Linked DNA regions of Homo sapiens: region 2 is linked to region 1. Evidence: promoter capture Hi-C in 16 types of primary human blood cells and fetal thymus (Javierre and others, 2016). All regions are on one chromosome and are shown on one strand. Each heading gives the region's core, a stretch centred on a gene start or on the middle of the fragment in contact. The rest is flanking DNA. Distances are from core to core; before and after follow the strand shown. Region 1 holds the start of OR8K5 (olfactory receptor family 8 subfamily K member 5). Region 2 holds the start of OR8H3 (olfactory receptor family 8 subfamily H member 3).

The links. Contacts are between HindIII fragments. The CHiCAGO score rates a contact against its expected background, and 5 or more counts as called.
Region 2: a contact is called between the fragment with the promoter of OR8H3 here and the fragment with the promoter of OR8K5 in region 1, in 12 of 17 cell types (neutrophils, total B cells, monocytes and 9 more). The highest score is 14.5, in neutrophils.

Annotation. Positions count from the first base shown.
Region 1 is chr11:56,156,844-56,163,578 of GRCh38, forward strand. OR8K5 (olfactory receptor family 8 subfamily K member 5) reads right to left here and starts at 3,474. Exons shown (of 1, transcript NM_001004058.2): 1 at 2,551-3,474. The coding sequence starts at 3,474. The coding sequence ends at 2,551. The HindIII fragment of the contact is 6,274 bases long and covers 1-4,436 here.
Region 2 is chr11:56,119,696-56,126,488 of GRCh38, forward strand. OR8H3 (olfactory receptor family 8 subfamily H member 3) reads left to right here and starts at 2,678. Exons shown (of 1, transcript NM_001005201.1): 1 at 2,678-3,616. The coding sequence starts at 2,678. The coding sequence ends at 3,616. The HindIII fragment of the contact is 10,899 bases long and covers 1-3,384 here.

The sequences.
Region 1 (6,735 bases), core at 2,224-4,723:
ATATACATATCCAAGGAGGTGAAAGAGCTCTACAAGCAAAACTACAAAACACTGCTGAAAGAAGTCAATGACAACACCAACAAATGAAAACATCCCATGCTCATGGATGGGTAGAATCAATATTGTAAAAATGACCATACTGCCAAAAGCAATCTACAGTTTCCATGCAATTCTCATTAAACTGCCATCATCATTCTTCACAGAACTAGAAAAAACAATCTTAAAATTCATATGGAACAAAAAAAGAGCCTGCATAGCTGAAGCAAGACTATGCAAAAATAACAAATCTGGAGGCATCATATTACCAGACTTTATGCTATAAGGCTATGGTTACCAAAGCAGTATGGTATTAGTATAAAAATGGGCACATAGAACAATGGAACAGAATAGAGAACCCAGAAATAAAGCCAAAGACAGCCAACTGATCTTTGACAAAGCAAACATAAACATAAAGTAGGGAAAGGGCAACCTATTACAAATGCTGCTGGGATAATTGGCAAGCTACATGTAGAAGAATAAAATTGGATCCTTATCTCTCACCTTATGCACAAATCAACTCAAGATGGATCAAAGACTTAAATCTAAACATGAAACCATAAGTTTCCTAGAAGATAACATTGGAAGAACTCTTATAGACATTGGTTTAGGAAAAAAGTTCATGAAAAATAACCCAAAAGCAAAAGCAACAAAAACAAAAATAAATAAATGGGACCTAATTAAACTAAATAGCTTCTGCATAGCAAGGTAAATAATCAGTAGAGTAAGCAGACAACCCAAAGAATGGAAAAAAATATTTGCAAACTATGCATTTAACTGTCATGGTTTGCCACTCTTACTACGGTTACCATGGGACTGAATGAAGGACGAACACAGAAATGAAAACTTAGAACATGAGAAACTATTTTAAAGAGAGGGTCCGGGGAAGAAGAAGAGGGCTCCTTGCTTCTAGTCTGCAAAGGTAGCCCTGAGATTCTACAGCCCTTCGTATTTATTGGGTAGAAACAGCAAGGAGGAGGAGGTAACGATTGGTCAGCTGCTTAATTGATCACAGGTTCACATTATTGCTAACAGGCTTCCGATGTGCCTAATCACAAGAAACACTGTGCCTAGGGCATGACTACCCTCAGCATTCCTTCTGGGCATCAGACATAGTTTGTCATTTTGCCAACATTCTGCATTTACGAGAATAGTTTGCTGTTTACTCATATAGCCTCCAGTGGTATACTGAGTTGATCACAACCCTCACTCTTTCGGACTACAACATTCAACAATGGACTAATATCCAGAATCTACAAGTAAATCAAGCAAATCAGCAAGAAGTGAACAAATAATCCCATCAAAAAGTGGACAAAGGTCATGAATAGACAACTCCAAAAGAAGATATACTTATGACCAAAAAAATATTTAAAAATGCTCAACATCACTAAGTATCTGGAAAATGCAAATCAAACCACAATGAGATTACCTTACTCCTGCAAGAATGACCATAATTTAAAAATAAAAAAAAAGTGTTGGCATGAATGTGGTGAAAAGGGAACACTTTCACACTGCTGGTAGGAGTGTAAACTGGTACAACCACTTTGGAAAACAGTATGGAGATTTTTTAAATAAGTAAAAGTAGAACTTTCACTTGATCCAGCAATCCCACTCCTGGGTATCTACCCAGTGGAAAAGAAGTCATTATGTGAAAAAGACACTTGCACATCCATGTTTAGAGCAGGGAAATTAGCAATTGCAGTAGTATGTAACCAGCCTAAATGTCCATCAACCAACTAGTGGATAAAGAAAATGTGAGATCTATATATATATATATACACACACACACACACACACATATATATCTCATGAAATCCGAAAATCTGATTACTCATTGAAAATCTGATATATATAAAGAAAATGTGATATATATATGACAAAAAGTGGACTCATATAACCAGAATATGATATACATATCACATTTTCTTTATATATACCATATATATATCAAATGATATATATAGATATCACGTTTTCTTTATCTATATATATGTGTGTGTGTGTGTATATATATATATATGTATATATATATATGATGGAATACTACTCACTTATAAAAAGGAACAAAATAATGGCATTCACAGCAACCTGGATGGAGCTGGAGACCTTTATTCTAAGTGAAGTAACTCAGGAATGGAAAACCAAATATCATATGTTCTCACTTATAAGTGGGAGCTAAACTATGAGGATACAAATAGGTAAGAATGACATAATGTATTTTGGGGACACAGGGAAAAGTGTGCAGTGTGGGCGAGGGATAAAAGGCTACACATTGAGTACAGTGTACACTGCTCAGGTGATGAGTGCACCAAAACCTCAGAAATTACCCCAATGAACTTATTCACATAACCAGAAACCTCCTACTTCCCAAAAATTATTGAAATAAAAAACAATTAAAAAAATTTGAAAATTGGAAAATTTATATACACATGAAAAATTATCAAGTGACATTAATCTATATTATATATTTATTATAACAATATTACAAATTGATTATTAAACACAAAGTTGACATCAATTCTCAAAGAGCTTATAGAAGGCATTTTTCACCTCTTCGTTTCTTAAGCTGTAAATCAAAGGGTTAAGCATGGGGATTACTAAAGTGTAAAACACAGAAGCCATTTTATCAGTATCAAAGAAGTGAGTGGAATTGGGCTGCATGTACATGAAGAGTAGAGACCCATAGAACACAACCACCACTGTCAAATGGGAACCACATGTGGAGAAAGCCTTTTTCCTGCCCTCTGCAGAATGCATTTGACATATAGCTAACAAAATCAACATGTAGGACACTAAGACTATCAGAAAGGAGGAGATCAAATTAAATACAGAAAATAGTATGCTCAACAATTCTATTTCCTGTGCATTTGAGCAAAGCATAGGTAGCAAAGGAACATCATCACAGTAAAAATGACTGATGACATTAGAGCCACAGAAGGTCAATGTAAAAATCTTAATAGTGAACATCAGAGCCTGAAATGTGCTGTAGAGATATTGAATGCCCACCAGTACATGACACAGTCGCTGAGACATAATAACATAATAGAGCAGAGGGTTACAAATGGCCACATAGCGGTCATAGGCCATGGCTGACAGGATGAAAAATTCACTGATAATGAACATAAGGAAGAATGCCAGCTGTGCAGCACATGCATAATAGGAAATAGTATTTCGATCCACAACAAAATTTGCCAGCACCTTGGGACAAATGACAGTAGAATTACCAAGATCAACAAAAGCCAAATGTCTGATAGAAAAGTACATAGGTGTATGTAAGTGGGAGTCCAGTTTGGTCAAAATGATCATAGTTAGGTTGCCCACCACTGTGATTAGGTAGATGACGAGGAAGACTCCAAAAAGGGGAATCTGCAGCTCAGGCCGCCTTGTGAGTTCCATCAGAATGAATTCAGTTAGCACTGTTAGATTGTGTTGGCCCATTTAGTCCAGTTATCTCTTCTAGGAAGAAACAGTTGGGTTATTAGCTGTTCCATGTAGTGCTATTTAAACAAATTATAATATTTGTAGACAGAATAGATTGTTATTCACAATAGATAATAGAAACATTATTTCTACATTTGATTCAGAAATGAAATATAAAGCAAAATTTTCTACTTTCCTAAAAGAGGAATTCATGTAAAATACATGCACTGAAACAACATAGATTAAATAGTTTCATCAATATTTGAAGTATATCGGTTAATAACACAGCCATATAGGTATTATTACAAAAAGATTATGCTCTTTTCATCTGCACAATGGTATCATGATTTTCTTTTGTTCACTTCCACTTTTGTTGTAAAACTTTTCTGTAATTTTGATATTCTCAAAGACAGAGGTAGAGATGGCAATAAGATAATGAAGGTTAAGATTTGGGGTCCCTCATTTGCACTTCCAGGGTCTTGTGTGGGGACTTACGAATGCACGCAAAAATGATATATCTTTGTAAAATTTCAAATGTAAGATATAATAATCATGATCAATTAAGGCTGCTTTCTGTTTTCATTCCAACTTCTAGTATATCACACTTCAACTAATATCATAGTGACTTGACATTTCTGCAAGCATTGTGGGATCTAGCTAAAGAAGGATTGAGTTAATAATAGTTTATTTGATGTTCAATGGATATGTTTATATCATTCAGACACTATGATATTTATCACTGAATAATACTACCTATTCTGACTTAAGAATGTCTTCTAAGGATACTCTTGCCACCTGTATGCTGAGATGCATTTGGCATTTGATTAATTAACATACTATATTAATAAATTTTATATAGTTTGTGGCCATGGGTTTGTTTACTAATTACAATTTAAAGCTAATTTTCTATTCTAAATAAATATTCCCATTTATCTTTCAACTTGTATGTGTAATTTTATCTAAAAAGTCAAATTCTTCTAAGCTTCAAGACACATAATCTGGATCCACTTCTGCAAAAACATGATTTAAATCAATATTCAGTGATGACTATTTAATTATATGTACTTTATTTTCTGTAATAAAACACTGTGAAGATGGTAGGTTCTATAAATCATTTAAATAATTTGAGAATTTAGGACATCATATATTAGTGAATGACTTTTTTTCTGGAATTGTACAGTGGAGTATTCATGGAGATATAATACTGTAATTAAAACTATTTCAATGAAAAGTACTTCTCCCTTTATTTAAAAAATACACGGGAAGTCAATAAAAGAAAGTGGAACGTCCCTGATACAGATAGTGAAGATGTCTTAGCCTATTCCACTTAAATTCCCCTCTCCTTCAGTTTCCACTCATTGAAAATCTGGAACTCTGTGAGAGTGACTTTCAATTGGAATAGTAACGGAATTTTCCACAGATCTAATGTAGAATAGATTTATTATAATGTAATGGAATGTCAGCTTTAGCCTGCACATCCCTCAGGTAGAAAACTCTGAAAACCCACCTAAAGATCCAAAACTACAGTTTGGAGCAGGTGCAGTCCACAGCCACACTGTGGCATTTGGCAACACTTCTAGGTATCTGCTCATTAGTGGGAGACATTTTGCCAACTTCATCTATGGACTACAGATGTGGGAAGGGGGCAACAGTGGAGGTTAGTGACCCTCTTCCATTCCTTCTCCCTAAATGAAGCTGTCTGCTGTTTCTCCATTGAACTTCACCCCTCTTTTAGGTCTTTCTTTTCCCACAGATAAGAACCATGACTATTCTATTTCTAAAACTTTATCTTAAATTTGCAGTATTGCAGGAATTGCTCACATAGGGTTTTATGGTAGAATAGAAGATGCACTGAATTGCAAAGGAAATTCAGAATTCCAACATCAATCCCACCAATCTGAAGTCAATACTTTGCTTAAAATGGTTTTAGTTTTTATTCAGTCTATTTCCATTGTCACTGTCAATTATTATCTCCCTCTGAAGATTTCTCAATTTTGTATCCTACCTGTTTTTCTTATGGAAAAAAGTATATTTCTAACGTATTTGAATAATTATGCATACATTTTAAATACCCTTGTTTAGGGATAACCAATAGAAAAGACAGGATAAAAAAGTATGCAAAGGAATTATTTTTCAGTCTTTAGCCTTCATGAAATCTTTTAGGAATTAATGATAGTTCAGGGATTTATTGGTAACTCTATAACTTTAAAAATTATTTCTATTTATTTTACAGTCTACTTAATCAGTTTGTAATGCCTATTGTTTAAAGGAAAACAATAGTAGTAACTCAGTAAAAATAAACCAAAAATATGCAAGTTTATATATGTAATATCACTATCTAGAAATTATTTGAAGCTTGTAAAATGTTGTATAGAAAAACATGGACACAGGGAGGGGACACAGGAAGGGGAACACAGGGAGGGGAACACCGGGGCCTCTCAGCGGGTGGGGGCTAGGGGAGGGATAACATCAGGAGAAAAACCTAATGTAGGTGACGGGTTGATGGGTGCAGCAAACCACCATGGCACATGTATACCTATGTAACAAACCTGCACATTCTGCACAGGTACCCTAGAACTTAAAGTATAATTAAAAAAAGCAAGAAAAAAAGAAAATACATATTTTAAAACACTATTTTTGAAATATTTTATTACATGTGTTCATAGTACTTCCTGATTATATGAAAAATGGAGATGGAAATCTTGCATTGTATCTGGGAATCTTAACCTTTCTAGATTCTAATAGATGAGATCATTGGCCAGGAACAGTGGCTCACGCCTGTAATCCCAGCACTTTGGGAGGCCAAGGCAGGCGGATCACGAGGTCAGCATCCTGGCTAACACAGTGAAACCCCGTCACTACTAAAAACACAAAAAAAATTAGCCGGGCGTGGTGTTGGGCGCCTGTAGTCCCAGCTACGCGGGAGGCTGAGGCAGGAGAATGGTGTGAACCTGGGAGGCGGAGCTTGCAGTGAGCCGAGATTGCACCACTGCACTCCAGCCTGGGTGACAGTGCGAGCTTCCATCTCAAAAAAAAAAAAAAAAAAAAAAAAAAAAAAAAAAAAAGGAAAGAAAAAGATAAGATCATTGATGACTTGGTTTTGTATTTCTAATGTATTTGAATTTTTCTTCATTTGCTATATCTAAATGCTACTATTGATTCTCACAAATCAATAGATCTAGGACCTCTGTTCAACTCATAGGATAATTCTCAAACATCACACTACTCCAGGGAACCCCGGTTATTAAGAGGGATACTGAATTTTTGTGGTGTATTTGA
Region 2 (6,793 bases), core at 1,428-3,927, 38 kb before region 1:
AACCTGTCTCAGGAGCACTAAATTTCTGGTGAATAGAATCGCTCTTCCCAAAACTCATCAAAGGTACAATAAATACATACAAATGTAGCGCTTTATACCTACCAACAGATTATCTCCTGAAATTCTAGATTATGGGCATGCTTTCCTTCTAGACTCACTTTAAAATTTACATAAAATTGATTTTTTTATAATGACTTAAGATTCACTTTAATATTTTACTCTGTTTCACATTTTATATTGTTTCAGAATCTTCCCTTGCTTCCTCATCTTGGACAAATAATTCTCAGTAGAATATTTCAGCTCTCTTTTTATATTTTAATTTTAACTCATATTTAAGGAAAAAATTGACCTGACTATACATGGAGGAAGTATGTTTTGGGCTACTAAATTAATTATAAAATGTTTATTAGTCTCATGGCTGATTTTGTTTTTCTGCTCTCACTTTTGTTTCATAAAATTTTAAAAAGTACATGAAAACAGCAAAACATAGTGCACAAATATTGCATGTAGATGAATTAGGTGACACCACCACACCAGAATGAATAACCTACACCACTTTCTGATAATGCTTCAAAATGTCTGTTTATCAGCTCGTAAACACATAGTTAACTTAGTAAGTTACGGGGCACTAACCAATACATGAACCGTAGAATTGTGTGGTTGATAAAAGGTTAATATAAGATAGCTCATGGCATAGCATAAAATTTTGGTTATTAAATGAGCAAAAGACACTGACTGTATAGTACAATAATTGTTATGCCATCTATAAGTACATGTACAAATAAGGCACAAAGGAAAATAATTAGGAAAAATTATAATGTTAACAAAATGTTAACGACAGTTTTGAATTGTTTTCATTTACTTTTTTTGAATTTTGTTATCTTCTGATTCTTTTCCAATTAACATGGTTTACATATACGATAGTATCGCACTTTTAAATATTAAGAAATTTAATTGTGAAAAATGTATTATTCCATCTTTGATGATGTCAGTCACAGAGTAACTATTTTTTCTGGAAATGCCTTCTCCACCACGCCTGTAAAATATTGAGAACATCACAAGAAAAGACCAATTCATAATTTCCTTCATTTGTGTGGCTTCTAAGGTAAAAAGGAAAATCTTTGCACAAAGCCTAACATGGCTACATTTAGTCCTTGAACTTTTGTGCTTGGAAACATGCCAAACAATCTGCCTTGGCAAATGGCCCCCAGGGCCTACCAAAAGGTGCATTGTCATCAGCCTCTGGTATATGAGATCCTCTGGAATTATCCGAGTGAGAGGGAAAGAATAATCTCCTTATGGTCACAGTGGCTGCCGGTCTTCTTTGACACATAACTTCTTGGTAATCTTTCCATTAGACCAGAACCTAAACAAAATTTCTAGATTGGTTTATCATAACTCAGAATAAAACATAATGAATGCACCAAAATGTAAAAACAACTTATCTCAAGGAAAACAAATATTATAAAAATTTTCATCTCCTTAAATAGTTTTCTTATTTTATTTATAACAAAAATTTGAAGTTGACAAATTTCCATACAGATAATATAAGAAGAAAGTTTTTTCATGAATGTTGACTTACACACAGTAAGTATTATTCTCAAAATTGGAAGATTTTGTTTCACATTTTACTTCAGATGAAATAAAATGGGGACTTTCGCAGAATAATATATTAATATATATTAATGTATATATTAATATATACACATATCATTTACTCTCTACCCTAAGTAATGTCAGGGTTTGTGAGACAAATGTAGAGTTGCCAGAATCAGAGTCTACAAGCAAAGTATACATTTTGAAAATATAATTTTTTGGAAGAAATTAGATTTTGATTAGTTATGTCAGGAAAACATCACATCTTTTATAAATTAATACTTATATATTGTCTATAATTTTAATGTACCTGACTAAAAACCCCAAGGGTGAAATTTATTGAAAATTATTATTAAATAATATTGGAAACAAAAGGGCAGTAAATTATATAATAAAACTGTTTCCTCTCATTTTTTATTACATGTCCACCTCTTTTCTCAAGTTTTCTGAAATTATTTATAAACAAGATTGTAGTATTATAAGCCTTCTCTCTGAAGGAATATATCTTTGTAGAATCAGTGTCAACATTGAATTGATCTGACTTTGGATAAGTTACTCCAACCTTCCATACTCTTTTTTTCCCTCACCTAAACTATGTGGATAATAGTAGTATCTATGGTATAATATTTTCAGGTGGATTAAATATATTAATAAAGGAAGCCATTCAGAACAATGTCAGGTTCATTCTAATTATGCAATATGCTACATTTTATTATAACATATGCAAATGTTAATTTGAACTTATATCTATATTGGCAATAAAATTAGTCTCTTTAGTCATATTCTATAAATTTATTAGCAATTTGTAGAATGTTAAACTAATTATTAAATGCTAGGTCATTCATATAAACAGAAATTTTTTTTGATTGTTTTGTTTATTTTTTTTGAGTCGGAGTCTGGCACAGTTGCTGGGGCTGCAATGCAATAGTGTGATCCCAGCTCACTGCAACCTCTGGCTCACTGCAACCTCCGGCTCCCATGTTCAAGCGATTCTCCTGCCTCAGCTTCTCCAGTAGCTGGGAGTACAGGCGCCCCTGCTACGTATCAACTTTGATTTCTCAGCAGTTTAGAGCAGGTGAACATGATGGGTAGAAGGAATGACACAAATGTGGCTGACTTCATCCTTACGGGACTGTCAGACTCTGAAGAGGTCCAGATGGCTCTGTTTATGCTATTTCTCCTCATATACCTAATTACTATGCTGGGGAATGTGGGGATGCTATTGATAATCCGCCTGGACCTCCAGCTTCACACTCCCATGTATTTTTTCCTTACTCACCTGTCATTTATTGACCTCAGTTACTCAACTGTCGTCACACCTAAAACCTTAGCGAACTTACTGACTTCCAACTATATTTCCTTCACGGGCTGCTTTGCCCAGATGTTCTGTTTTGTCTTCTTGGGTACTGCTGAATGTTATCTTCTCTCCTCAATGGCCTATGATCGCTATGCAGCGATCTGCAGTCCTCTACACTACACAGTTATTATGCCCAAAAGGCTCTGCCTCGCTCTCATCACTGGGCCTTATGTGATTGGCTTTATGGACTCCTTTGTCAATGTGGTTTCCATGAGCAGATTGCATTTCTGTGACTCAAACATAATTCATCACTTTTTCTGTGACACTTCCCCAATTTTAGCTCTGTCCTGCACTGACACAGACAACACTGAAATGCTGATATTCATTATCGCTGGTTCCACCCTGATGGTGTCCCTTATCACAATATCTGCATCCTATGTGTCCATTCTCTCTACCATCCTGAAAATTAATTCCACTTCAGGAAAGCAGAAAGCTTTCTCTACTTGCGTCTCTCATCTCTTGGGAGTCACCATCTTCTATGGAACTATGATTTTTACTTACTTAAAGCCAAGAAAGTCTTATTCCTTGGGAAGAGATCAAGTGGCTCCTGTGTTTTATACTATTGTGATTCCCATGCTGAATCCACTCATTTATAGTCTTAGAAACAGAGAAGTGAAAAATGCTCTCATTAGAGTCATGCAGAGAAGACAGGACTCCAGGTAGTTAAAATAGCAGAAATGGAACATTTAATCTCATCTTTTCTTTCATTCCTATTGGGTATTTTCTTAGTCTCTCTATAAAAACAATTGAATCCTTTAATTTATTTGCATTTCTGTTGTGCTACTCTTTGCTTGACTAAACATGATTTAAAACATTTCAAGGCATATGTTTTTAGAAATCCAAATGGTAATTAGAATCATAATATGTGTGTCATGTTTTGAAGCAACTGATGTGGAAAATAAGAAAATAAGGTTGTCATTTTTAATTATATTATTCAAATTCTTATGTATGCTTCAACTGTAGATAAATTTATTATGGAAAGAATATTTGAGACACGGTGATAATAGTTTTAGATGTTATTCCATTTATTATGTGGGGAAGAATCATAGCAGAGTGGGTAGGAGTACTTACTTTGGAATAAAATTTTCCAAGAGTTAGATTCTAAATATGCTACACTTTTAGCTGTGTAGCCATTAATATGTTACCTAAAGCTTAAGCCTCCTTTCCCTAAGTGCGCAAGATAAATAACTCCAAATCTGATCAGAGGGTAGTTGTAGAGTATTTAAAGCGATAATAATTAATGCTTCCCATTATCATTAGAAGACCTACATTACTGCACAGTGCGTTTTTTCAAGAATGTAAACTCGTGTTTCACAAATTACTTTTGGTTAATTTAATTGACAGAACTAAAAAGAACAAAAATCAGCAGCTCACAATTTTGGATTTCAGAAGTAAAATATTTCAGTAGAATTATGTTATAGAAAAAATAGCCTATATTAATATAATGTTAGAGAAAATTTGAAAATATTATAAAATATTGAAGAAAATAGAAATCCTCTACAAATATTGAGTTTTGGCTGCTCTTCCTGTGGAGTAGCCATTCTTTTGTTTATTTACTTCTCTAATAAACTCGTTTTCAGTTTTAGAAAAACAAATATTGAGTTTTGTGCATGTTCTTCTAGATCAATAGTTTCAAATACGTGCACATATATAACGCATATAAACAAAAATTTCTATCACTTTCTACATACTGATTTTCAGCTTTCTGTATTCATTTACAAGTTTAACATTAGATAATCTCTTTGTCATCGACAAATCTAACATAAAGTTTTTCTTGATACATGGGCACAATCAAGTCTCATTTCACAATGTTTTGGACTTGAAATATAAATTCATCACGTTAAAAATCTACATGCAGTGATATGTCCTTTGCATGCTAAACAGGTGAAAAGTGGATTTCCGTAATGTGTCAAATTGCTTCTTTATTAAAATCCTGTGTGTTTTTAAAAATCATTGCCTTTCTCCTGTTTTCTACAGGTTTGTTTCAGTTTTAAAATAACTCCTTGAATTAAATGCTTTATTCATTGATTTTACATTTCTTAATACAGAAAAGATGTAAAGCAAAGAATTGACAATGAATTCAGTTGTTGTGACATCCCATCAATTTTAGTCAGGTAGTGTGCTTAAATGTCTTTTATTTTTAAATGTTTTCCTTACATATTCTGGAAACACAGTTTTGTTTTTATCTGCTATTTAAAGGATATTTTAGAAGCTAGTTTTTATTTTCCAAGTATTTGTCTTTTTTGTTTAAACTTTTGTAACAGTTACTAGATAGACTGTTTTCGTTTATATATTGAAATTTTTGTTTGTACAATTATATTTGATTTTTTCTAAGTGCATTTTGAATGTTTAAAATAGACTGTATCCTCTATTTTAGGAGTTAACATTTTAATAAAATTTCACTTATTCAAACTGTCAGCTAATTTATTCAAATCTTTTAAATACATATTGTTTCCTCTTAATTTATTTCACAATTTTGTTTATCAAGTATTAATGCCATGTAAAATTATTATAATTTAATTTTTGCTTTGATATCCATTTTTTCAGGAATATATATTTATAGGTCCCTGTATTTGTTTTCATTTGCAATTAGAAATAAGTATTTAATCGACATTTATTATTTAATAATATGTTTTTGGCTCATTCTTATCTAATAAATGCATAATATAAGTTCATGTATTTACAGGTTCTTTCCATTTTTCTATTTATTTCTATAAACTATGGTTTTATCTTGCTTTCATTTATGTCTACTTCTATGATTTAGAAAATGGATCCTGTCAATTTGGGTTGCAAAGATGGCCAACAGAATCTATCACTTTGTGGTCAACACATGGTGGGAAATTGTTTACATTCTAATTTAATGAGGACCACCCTATCATCTTCATAACATAGGCTAAAACATATTCACATAATGTTATTAAAAAGTATACAATAATCTATGCACAACATGAAAGATTTAGACTGTTCACATTTGGCCTATACTTTCCTTATTATATTGGTGTAAAGTATATTTTATGTAAGATATTGTCTAATTGAAGACATAGTTGTCTGGTTCATAGTGTCATGCCAAAATGCCCTATGATATAAATATGAAACAAACCCTGTCATTGAGCATGGCAAGATATGAACAGCTATTTTTACTTCCACATAATTATGGCTAGAGGAAAACAGTAATAATATATTTTTCTGAGCACTTTCCATGGTCAGGCAATATTCAAAGGCTTTATGTATATCTAATTAACATAATTTATTGTTATAATTTAACTGTCAGGTCAGTACTAGCAATATGTAAAGTTTAATCTCACATTAATGGAAAACCACCCTTTACTTGTTCAAGCAGACTTAAGAATTTTCTTGGAATTTTCTTCTTATTGAACACACTTTACTTCCTTTCCATCAGCATATTAAGGTGATTCTAAATATAGACTGTATTTGGTGTCTGTTTTAACATGTTTTTGCCGCCATCGTGGCCAAGATAACTATATTTTCCACTTCAGAATTATTGCTTCAATATTGTAGAATGCACCTAACTTTTTTTCTTATTCCTCTTGAGTCTAATCTCAATGTAGGAGCCAGAGTTATACTGTGAAACAGTAGGTTAGATCATAATTTTTCTTCACAAACCCTATATAATATTTCTGAAATACGGCCTGAAATTTTCCATTTTCTTTTTCCTGAAACTTTTTTTCCCCAAAGATAACTGCATCATTTTTTTCTTATCCTTTTCTCGACAAGAAAATCTCTCACCACCCTATTAAAACTGGTACCTGTTCACATCCTCTTTCAAACGTTCTTCTTTTTTCATAGCACTTATTCCCATCTGATGTTCTAAATATTTTT